Linked DNA regions of Homo sapiens: region 1 is linked to region 2. The links are contacts of gene promoters, found by promoter capture Hi-C in blood cells and fetal thymus (Javierre and others, 2016). All regions are on one chromosome and are shown on one strand. Each heading gives the region's core, a stretch centred on a gene start or on the middle of the fragment in contact. The rest is flanking DNA. Distances are from core to core; before and after follow the strand shown.

The links. Contacts are between HindIII fragments. The CHiCAGO score rates a contact against its expected background, and 5 or more counts as called.
Region 1: a contact is called between a fragment that was not itself captured here and the fragment with the promoter of CXCL8 in region 2, in 1 of 17 cell types (monocytes). The highest score is 6.7, in monocytes.

The regions. Positions count from the first base shown.
Region 1 is chr4:74,618,931-74,623,346 of GRCh38, forward strand. No RefSeq gene overlaps it. Among named protein-coding and RNA genes, the nearest start is that of BTC, 170 kb to the right of the region's middle. RefSeq lists a silencer at 4,185-4,416. The HindIII fragment of the contact is 1,252 bases long and covers 1,432-2,683 here.
Region 2 is chr4:73,737,797-73,742,622 of GRCh38, forward strand. CXCL8 (C-X-C motif chemokine ligand 8) reads left to right here and starts at 2,773. Exons shown (of 4, transcript NM_000584.4): 1 at 2,773-2,926; 2 at 3,746-3,881; 3 at 4,153-4,236; 4 at 4,653-4,826. The coding sequence starts at 2,863. The coding sequence ends at 4,668. RefSeq lists a silencer at 1,236-1,530. The HindIII fragment of the contact is 2,023 bases long and covers 779-2,801 here.

The DNA.
Region 1 (4,416 bases), core at 808-3,307, 880 kb after region 2:
TCCTTCAAATATTTGACTCACATAACTTTCCCATTGAATTCTCTGATCATCCTATTTTAATCCTATCTCTTTAGTTTCATACTCCCCACTCTCTTTGCCTAATTTTCATCATCATCATATGTCCTATTTATTTGTTGATATTTTGTCTCTGCCAGTACAATATAAGTTTCATGAGAACATATATCTTTGTCTGTTGATTCATTAAGGCATGCCAAATGCCTAAAACAGTTTTAGGTGTAGAGAAGGCATTTGTAGACTGTTTTGAACATATTAGGTAAGTGGAAGGGCTGAATCTTAATTACCCTGGCATGGGCTTCAGCATCTAGAAAAATTCCTAGCACATAATTTTCAATTTAAAAATATCCTTGAATTTGTAAGTGAATAAATCAATAAATGGGTAGCCCAATAATCCTTTCTGGGCCACAAATTCTTCATTTTTTCTAGGTATCTTGTATTTATGCATAATATTAAAACTTTCCTTCTAGATAACCTTAATGCACTCGTTTAAAGAATAATTTCCTTATTACAGTTGCAATTATCTGAAAAAAGCCTATGTACAAGTGAGTAAATAGGCAGCTGCCTTATCATAGTAATAGATTGTGAACTTCATACATTCTGCCATTAACCAATATCCTTTCAGTCTCAATAATTTGTTGATGATCTTAAGTGTGCCTTATTTTGAGTGAAATTTAATAGATATTAAATTGACTAAAATTCTAGAAGACTCTACTTAAGTGATGTGTTAACAACCATTGTTCAATAAAAGCAAGGGTCTCTACTTATGTGTGGTGAAAGGAACCTGAATTTGGGGGCAAGATGGATTTGATTAGAATCCTGGTCTGCCCAACCCAAGACAAGGGGCGTGACCTTGGGCTCCCTGCTGAGCATGTGTCTCATCTGTAAAATGAGGGTGATACACTACCTACCTATTACATTTATTGAAAGAACTGCATAAAATAATGTACGTAACATGCCTGATATACAACTGATTTTCAAAAATTGTCTTTCATTTTACTTATCTCCACTCCATTTTATTGTTTCTCTTATTTGTTTGTTTCATTTCTGCTCTTGGGCATTTAAGCTCTTTTTGTCATTAGCATTAAAGACTAAATCTACAAACTTTATCAAGCTAAGAAAAATCGTCCTCAGAGAGATTAAATGAAGCCTGAATTGCAAAGTCATTACTAATGATTTCAGCAGATTCCTGCAGGAGCCTAACTTTCAGTAGTCTTAGGGGTGCCAAAAAAAATATGCTTGCAAGTCATTTGTTTTGACCAGATAACCTACTGATGCTCCTAAAAGTTCATCAGCTTTTTTTTTAAGAAACATAAAAAGAAGCATTATTATTTTGTAGCCAGCCTCTTTAAGGGAAAAACAGATTAAGTAGTGTATCAAGCTTTCTCTAAGAACTGGCTTTGCCCCAGTGTATCAAGCTTTCTCTAAGAACTGGCTTTGCCCCAAGGGGAAGGGTTTCTAGGTAGCTAGACTCTAAATATTTGCTGAATAAATGAAAGAATAAATACATGTTTGAATTATTTAATTAATATAGTTGCTGAGGCCAATGAGCGTCTCTGTGGTTTTGGTCTTTCAACAGCCACTTAGCAGAAAAAGGAGAGATATAGAGACAGCCTGTTGAGCTGTGCAGGGTGTGACTGGTCTTCTAAACTTGGCACTCAAACTGGAAGGCTATATCACTGTTTTGCTACCTGTTGCCATAGTAATCATGGGTATGGCCATGATACCTGAAGACTAATGTCAAAATTTCCCCCCAGTTTTCTGATTGAATTTTTTACCCTTAATCTCAAAAATGTTACTCTCCTCTTTTATTCTTATCATGCTGACATATATTTGCTTTTATATTTTTCTCGAAAGCTGGTCTGCAGTAGCTAATGAGATAGTAGCATACATGAAAAGGAGGAATCCTAGAAGTAATTTCCTTTATGAAAATTATGTGTTTCATCTCTCTTTCTTTGTGCTTAACACAATACTTCTTGGTTTAAGAATATCTCTTTCAAATGTTAGGCCAAGTTTCATGAGGATTCTTTCATTGAACTCTATTTAGTGTTGACTTAAGATAAGGAATTGAAACTTCATTCCTTAAGACTTGATGTCTTCCTCCTAAGTACATTTCAATTCACGTGACTTCAGAGACTGCCCTTAATAGGACTAACATGAAAGTAAATTCATGAATTCTGTAATATTATTTACGGTAATTCAAATTCCCTTATACTGTACTTCTTCTAAATGATGCAGTTACCAAAGACCCAATAGGACTTGCAGGCCTACTATCAAGACATTTTCAACAGTGACTCCAAGAAAAGAACAATCATGATAATCTGACATTTTTTTTTCTCAGTTCATGGCATTTATTTTCAATCTTTATCACACATGCCTGTTTCCTCATTTACAAATTATTAGAAACAATAGTACCCATTATGAATTATTACTACGAAGCAAACAAGCTAATATATGCAAGATGATTAGAAATGTTAGTCATTACTATTCTGTTTATCTTTATTCAGCCAGATGATGTTTTCTATTTTTAATATATTTTCCTATTTCATGGAGAAAAAAGTTCACTGTTGTTTCTGTCCCAAAACCCTCAATCCCAAATCATGACTGCATTACCTTCTCTAAACTTTATTGGTAGAAGTTAGCTGCTTGTCAAAGTTTCAAACAAACAAGCTTAGGAAGGAAGAGAAAAATATAAGTGGAAGAATTAAAGTAACATAACAAGGACCTGCATTTATTAATATTGTATTATAAGCTCACAGTATACAGGGATTGTGTCATCCATATATTTATTATTCACAGCATGTACAGCATTGTCTTGTGTATGATTAGTGTGTAAAAAATCTGAGTGAAAACAGGATGACTGAATAAAGGAGATAATAAATGAATGACAGTTGCCAAATGCCCTTAAAGCCTTGTAAAATGTTTGTTCAAAGAAGAGTTAGAAATATAGTAAACAAGACTTGGCAATTATCCATAAATTGAATTTGTTCAGGTTTTCCTTTCTTCCAGAAGTTATCATACTAATCAGAAACTGTTACATTCATATATCAGAGTCATCAAAATAAAGTCATCGAAGAAAGGAAGATAGAATAGATAGAGAAACTTTTCTGGTAAATTCTATGACAAATTATGATTGGAGTCTTATAAGTAGTCTTATATTTTTAAAATTCTAAACTTCAGAACTTTTGAAATATAACAATCATTTTATTGAAAAATAAAAGAAAGGCTAACAGTGTGCTTTAGATAAAGTTTTTCACATAATCATGCTTATCCACTGACAGTTTCATCTTCATACTTGTGCAATATAGAAGGAAACAGAGATACTTGGAAGTGCTCAGCCCGGGGAATAAGCTACAGGATGAAATGGCCCACGCTAGGAACCATCTACTTTACCCAGTGATACACAATGGAAAATAAACCTGTCTTAAAAAAAAAAAATGGGAACATAACAGGTGTTTGGTTGATTCTAGAATAAAATGCAAATTTTGAACAACTAAGATTAAACTTTAGAAATTCAAGGTCTTTCCTACTTTCAATTTCTACCTAGGTTCCCAAAACTTCTCTCCTACAGAACCCCCAACCCCCAGCTCCCTACACAGACATTTGCACTTCTCTCTAAACACTGCTCAAAAGCAGCATTTCTCAAACTTTCTCTGATCAGGATTCACTGAGCCGAAAGGAAAACAAAAGAAAATATGGTCTACTTCACTGATTCTAGCATTGAAGAAAGCTTTGTGATGGGAACAATTAGGGAGGAATAATTATAATAGCAGCATTTCAGCAATTACGCAGGAACAAAGCCATCAGGAAAAGTGTAACCTAGGAATAATTCTATACATAAATTAAATAATGCAAAAATAGGAGCAACTGAAAACCATAGCTAGCTTAAAACAATCCTAAAATTATAACAAGGTTAGAGAATCTTCTCTGAAAATTCGGGCAATCCCAACAATCTAAGTGTGCGTTAAAAGTTCTTGCTAAGCATTGCTTGACAGTGGGATTTCTTAGCAGAATATTAAATTAGGACCCTCAAATTTTAGAAGGGTAATATTTTAATTTGTGAATATCAAATTTTTAAATTATTAATAATGCACTTGGAAGATTACTCACAGCTAGGTAATATTTATTTGAATATAAATATAAGCATATATTGAATTCCCAAACTTTTTCCACTCCTAAAAAACTGAGAAACAGACTTTCTGAACTGCTCTTGGGCTTCAGACTATGCTGAGATGAAAACACAGCTGTAGTTCAGGGGCTTCGTCACAGATAATATGCATTTTGGTGTCACCTACTGGCATGATGTGACATGACATGACAGAAGTTTATGAGCCAAAGCATTTAAAATAGTAATGGTGCATTGTTCTGTGTCAAACACTGCGTCAGGCACAAAAGGTACAG
Region 2 (4,826 bases), core at 1,523-4,022:
AACAGTTAAGTCTCATGAACTCACTTTGCATTCATCTCTAGAAGATGACAAAACATTTGTATTTATGTGTAGCGTGGCACTTTAGTTAAACTTTGTACCCCACTTTGCTCTATTTTAAAGCAGAATATCCTTAAAAAGGATACTTAGTCCTGCTTTTTTTTTTCCGCCTAAGCCCATTTAGTCCTTCTACTCATTATGCAAGGACTCAAATGGTTATCTTTACAGAAGTGAGACAAGATAGAATCAATGCTCTTGTAGTCACTTCATCTTTGTCCATTCCCACTTCTGATGGAGAGGGTTCTAGGACATAATGCACTGAAGGTTACATTGTGAGAGATGAACAACATTTGCAAAAGAGGTCTTTTTGCCTTGGAAAGGCTTCATTCTTAAAAAAAAATGTGAGCATCAAGGTTAAGTAGACCTCATTAGCTCAAACTTTAAGGATGATATCAGGATAAAGTTGGGCCCATGAGAAGAGAATGAGAGGGAGATATAGTGACATGAAAATAAGGAGGAAAACGAGGTGTCTATGTAAGTTGGGCTCACCATAAATACAAAGGCAACCGTTAGGGAAAAGCAAAGAAGTCTTTGCACATCCTCAGAACTCTGAATGTCTTAGTGATGCTGTATGAGTGAGTCTTAATGATAGTGAACTGAATCAGTCAAGCCAGGTTGTGTCCATATGAGAATGTGTCTTTGCTAAACATGCCAACATCACTGAAGCAAAGAAACTTGGAGTTTTCTTTAAGATATAGGTCTTTTTTACCTATCCGGCCCAAGCTTTCTCTTCTTGTCACTCCATGCACTGTGTTCCGTATGCTAAATAGTTTGAGAAACCCAAATGGGCCATGTTCGCCTACATTTCATTGTCCTGTACTTCCTGTCCTGTACTAGCAAAGCAGTCCCATTGGTCTTTCTTCTCCTCATTAACAATAAAGGTAACACTTTTGATGTTGTTTCTTCAGAAAACCTTCATTCATCAAAACTGCCTCAAAGATCATGTTTGTTTGATTCCAGAACTTCCTGTAATTACCTGTTATTGTAACACTCATCACTGTATTTTACTTACTTGTGTAACTAATTTTCCATATTCTGCACTAGACAACAAAGTCCTTTAAGTCAGGTACTATATCTATTTACATAGCATTCACATCTCCTACAATAAGGGACATTAGCAGATAAACAACACATATTAAATGAATAATGAAGTTTCTGAAATACTACAGTTGAAAACTATAGGAGCTACATTATATAGAATAAACATTTACTTTGCTATAGAATTCAGTGTAACCCAGGCATTATTTTATCCTCAAGTCTTAGGTTGGTTGGAGAAAGATAACAAAAAGAAACATGATTGTGCAGAAACAGACAAACCTTTTTGGAAAGCATTTGAAAATGGCATTCCCCCTCCACAGTGTGTTCACAGTGTGGGCAAATTCACTGCTCTGTCGTACTTTCTGAAAATGAAGAACTGTTACACCAAGGTGAATTATTTATAAATTATGTACTTGCCCAGAAGCGAACAGACTTTTACTATCATAAGAACCCTTCCTTGGTGCTCTTTATCTACAGAATCCAAGACCTTTCAAGAAAGGTCTTGGATTCTTTTCTTCAGGACACTAGGACATAAAGCCACCTTTTTATGATTTGTTGAAATTTCTCACTCCATCCCTTTTGCTAGTGATCATGGGTCCTCAGAGGTCAGACTTGGTGTCCTTGGATAAAGAGCATGAAGCAACAGTGGCTGAACCAGAGTTGGAACCCAGATGCTCTTTCCACTAAGCATACAACTTTCCATTAGATAACACCTCCCTCCCACCCCAACCAAGCAGCTCCAGTGCACCACTTTCTGGAGCATAAACATACCTTAACTTTACAACTTGAGTGGCCTTGAATACTGTTCCTATCTGGAATGTGCTGTTCTCTTTCATCTTCCTCTATTGAAGCCCTCCTATTCCTCAATGCCTTGCTCCAACTGCCTTTGGAAGATTCTGCTCTTATGCCTCCACTGGAATTAATGTCTTAGTACCACTTGTCTATTCTGCTATATAGTCAGTCCTTACATTGCTTTCTTCTTCTGATAGACCAAACTCTTTAAGGACAAGTACCTAGTCTTATCTATTTCTAGATCCCCCACATTACTCAGAAAGTTACTCCATAAATGTTTGTGGAACTGATTTCTATGTGAAGCACATGTGCCCCTTCACTCTGTTAACATGCATTAGAAAACTAAATCTTTTGAAAAGTTGTAGTATGCCCCCTAAGAGCAGTAACAGTTCCTAGAAACTCTCTAAAATGCTTAGAAAAAGATTTATTTTAAATTACCTCCCCAATAAAATGATTGGCTGGCTTATCTTCACCATCATGATAGCATCTGTAATTAACTGAAAAAAAATAATTATGCCATTAAAAGAAAATCATCCATGATCTTGTTCTAACACCTGCCACTCTAGTACTATATCTGTCACATGGTACTATGATAAAGTTATCTAGAAATAAAAAAGCATACAATTGATAATTCACCAAATTGTGGAGCTTCAGTATTTTAAATGTATATTAAAATTAAATTATTTTAAAGATCAAAGAAAACTTTCGTCATACTCCGTATTTGATAAGGAACAAATAGGAAGTGTGATGACTCAGGTTTGCCCTGAGGGGATGGGCCATCAGTTGCAAATCGTGGAATTTCCTCTGACATAATGAAAAGATGAGGGTGCATAAGTTCTCTAGTAGGGTGATGATATAAAAAGCCACCGGAGCACTCCATAAGGCACAAACTTTCAGAGACAGCAGAGCACACAAGCTTCTAGGACAAGAGCCAGGAAGAAACCACCGGAAGGAACCATCTCACTGTGTGTAAACATGACTTCCAAGCTGGCCGTGGCTCTCTTGGCAGCCTTCCTGATTTCTGCAGCTCTGTGTGAAGGTAAGCACATCTTTCTGACCTACAGCGTTTTCCTATGTCTAAATGTGATCCTTAGATAGCAAAGCTATTCTTGATGCTTTGGTAACAAACATCCTTTTTATTCAGAAACAGAATATAATCTTAGCAGTCAATTAATGTTAAATTGAAGATTTAGAAAAAACTATATATAACACTTAGGAAAGTATAAAGTTTGATCAATATAGATATTCTGCTTTTATAATTTATACCATGTAGCATGCATATATTTAACGTAAATAAGTAATTTATAGTATGTCCTATTGAGAACCACGGTTACCTATATTATGTATTAATATTGAGTTGAGCAAGGTAACTCAGACAATTCCACTCCTTGTAGTATTTCATTGACAAGCCTCAGATTTGTCATTAATTCCTGTCTGGTTTAAAGATACCCTGATTATAGACCAGGCATGTATAACTTATTTATATATTTCTGTTAATTCTTTCTGAAGGCAATTTCTATGCTGGAGAGTCTTAGCTTGCCTACTATAAATAACACTGTGGTATCACAGAGGATTATGCAATATTGACCAGATAAAAATACCATGAAGATGTTGATATTGTACAAAAAGAACTCTAACTCTTTATATAGGAAGTCGTTCAATGTTGTCAGTTATGACTGTTTTTTAAAACAAAGAACTAACTGAGGTCAAGGGCTAGGAGAATATTCAGGAATGAGTTCACTAGAAACATGATGCCTTCCATAGTCTCCAAATAATCATATTGGAATTAGAAAGGAAGTAGCTGGCAGAGCTGTGCCTGTTGATAAAATCAATCCTTAATCACTTTTTCCCCCAACAGGTGCAGTTTTGCCAAGGAGTGCTAAAGAACTTAGATGTCAGTGCATAAAGACATACTCCAAACCTTTCCACCCCAAATTTATCAAAGAACTGAGAGTGATTGAGAGTGGACCACACTGCGCCAACACAGAAATTATGTAAGTACTTTAAAAAAGATTAGATATTTTGTTTTAGCAAACTTAAAATTAAGGAAGGTGGAAATATTTAGGAAAGTTCCAGGTGTTAGGATTACAGTAGTAAATGAAACAAAACAAAATAAAAATATTTGTCTACATGACATTTAAATATGGTAGCTTCCACAACTACTATAAATGTTATTTTGGACTTAGACTTTATGCCTGACTTAAGGAATCATGATTTGAATGCAAAAACTAAATATTAATCTGAACCATTTCTTTCTTATTTCAGTGTAAAGCTTTCTGATGGAAGAGAGCTCTGTCTGGACCCCAAGGAAAACTGGGTGCAGAGGGTTGTGGAGAAGTTTTTGAAGAGGTAAGTTATATATTTTTTAATTTAAATTTTTCATTTATCCTGAGACATATAATCCAAAGTCAGCCTATAAATTTCTTTCTGTTGCTAAAAATCGTCATTAGGTATCTGCCTTTTTGGTTAAAAAAAAAAGGAATAGCATCAATAGTGAGTTTGTTGTACTCATGACCAGAAAGACCATACATAGTTTGCCCAGGAAATTCTGGGTTTAAGCTTGTGTCCTATACTCTTAGTAAAGTTCTTTGTCACTCCCAGTAGTGTCCTATTTTAGATGATAATTTCTTTGATCTCCCTATTTATAGTTGAGAATATAGAGCATTTCTAACACATGAATGTCAAAGACTATATTGACTTTTCAAGAACCCTACTTTCCTTCTTATTAAACATAGCTCATCTTTATATTTTTAATTTTATTTTAGGGCTGAGAATTCATAAAAAAATTCATTCTCTGTGGTATCCAAGAATCAGTGAAGATGCCAGTGAAACTTCAAGCAAATCTACTTCAACACTTCATGTATTGTGTGGGTCTGTTGTAGGGTTGCCAGATGCAATACAAGATTCCTGGTTAAATTTGAATTTCAGTAAACAATGAA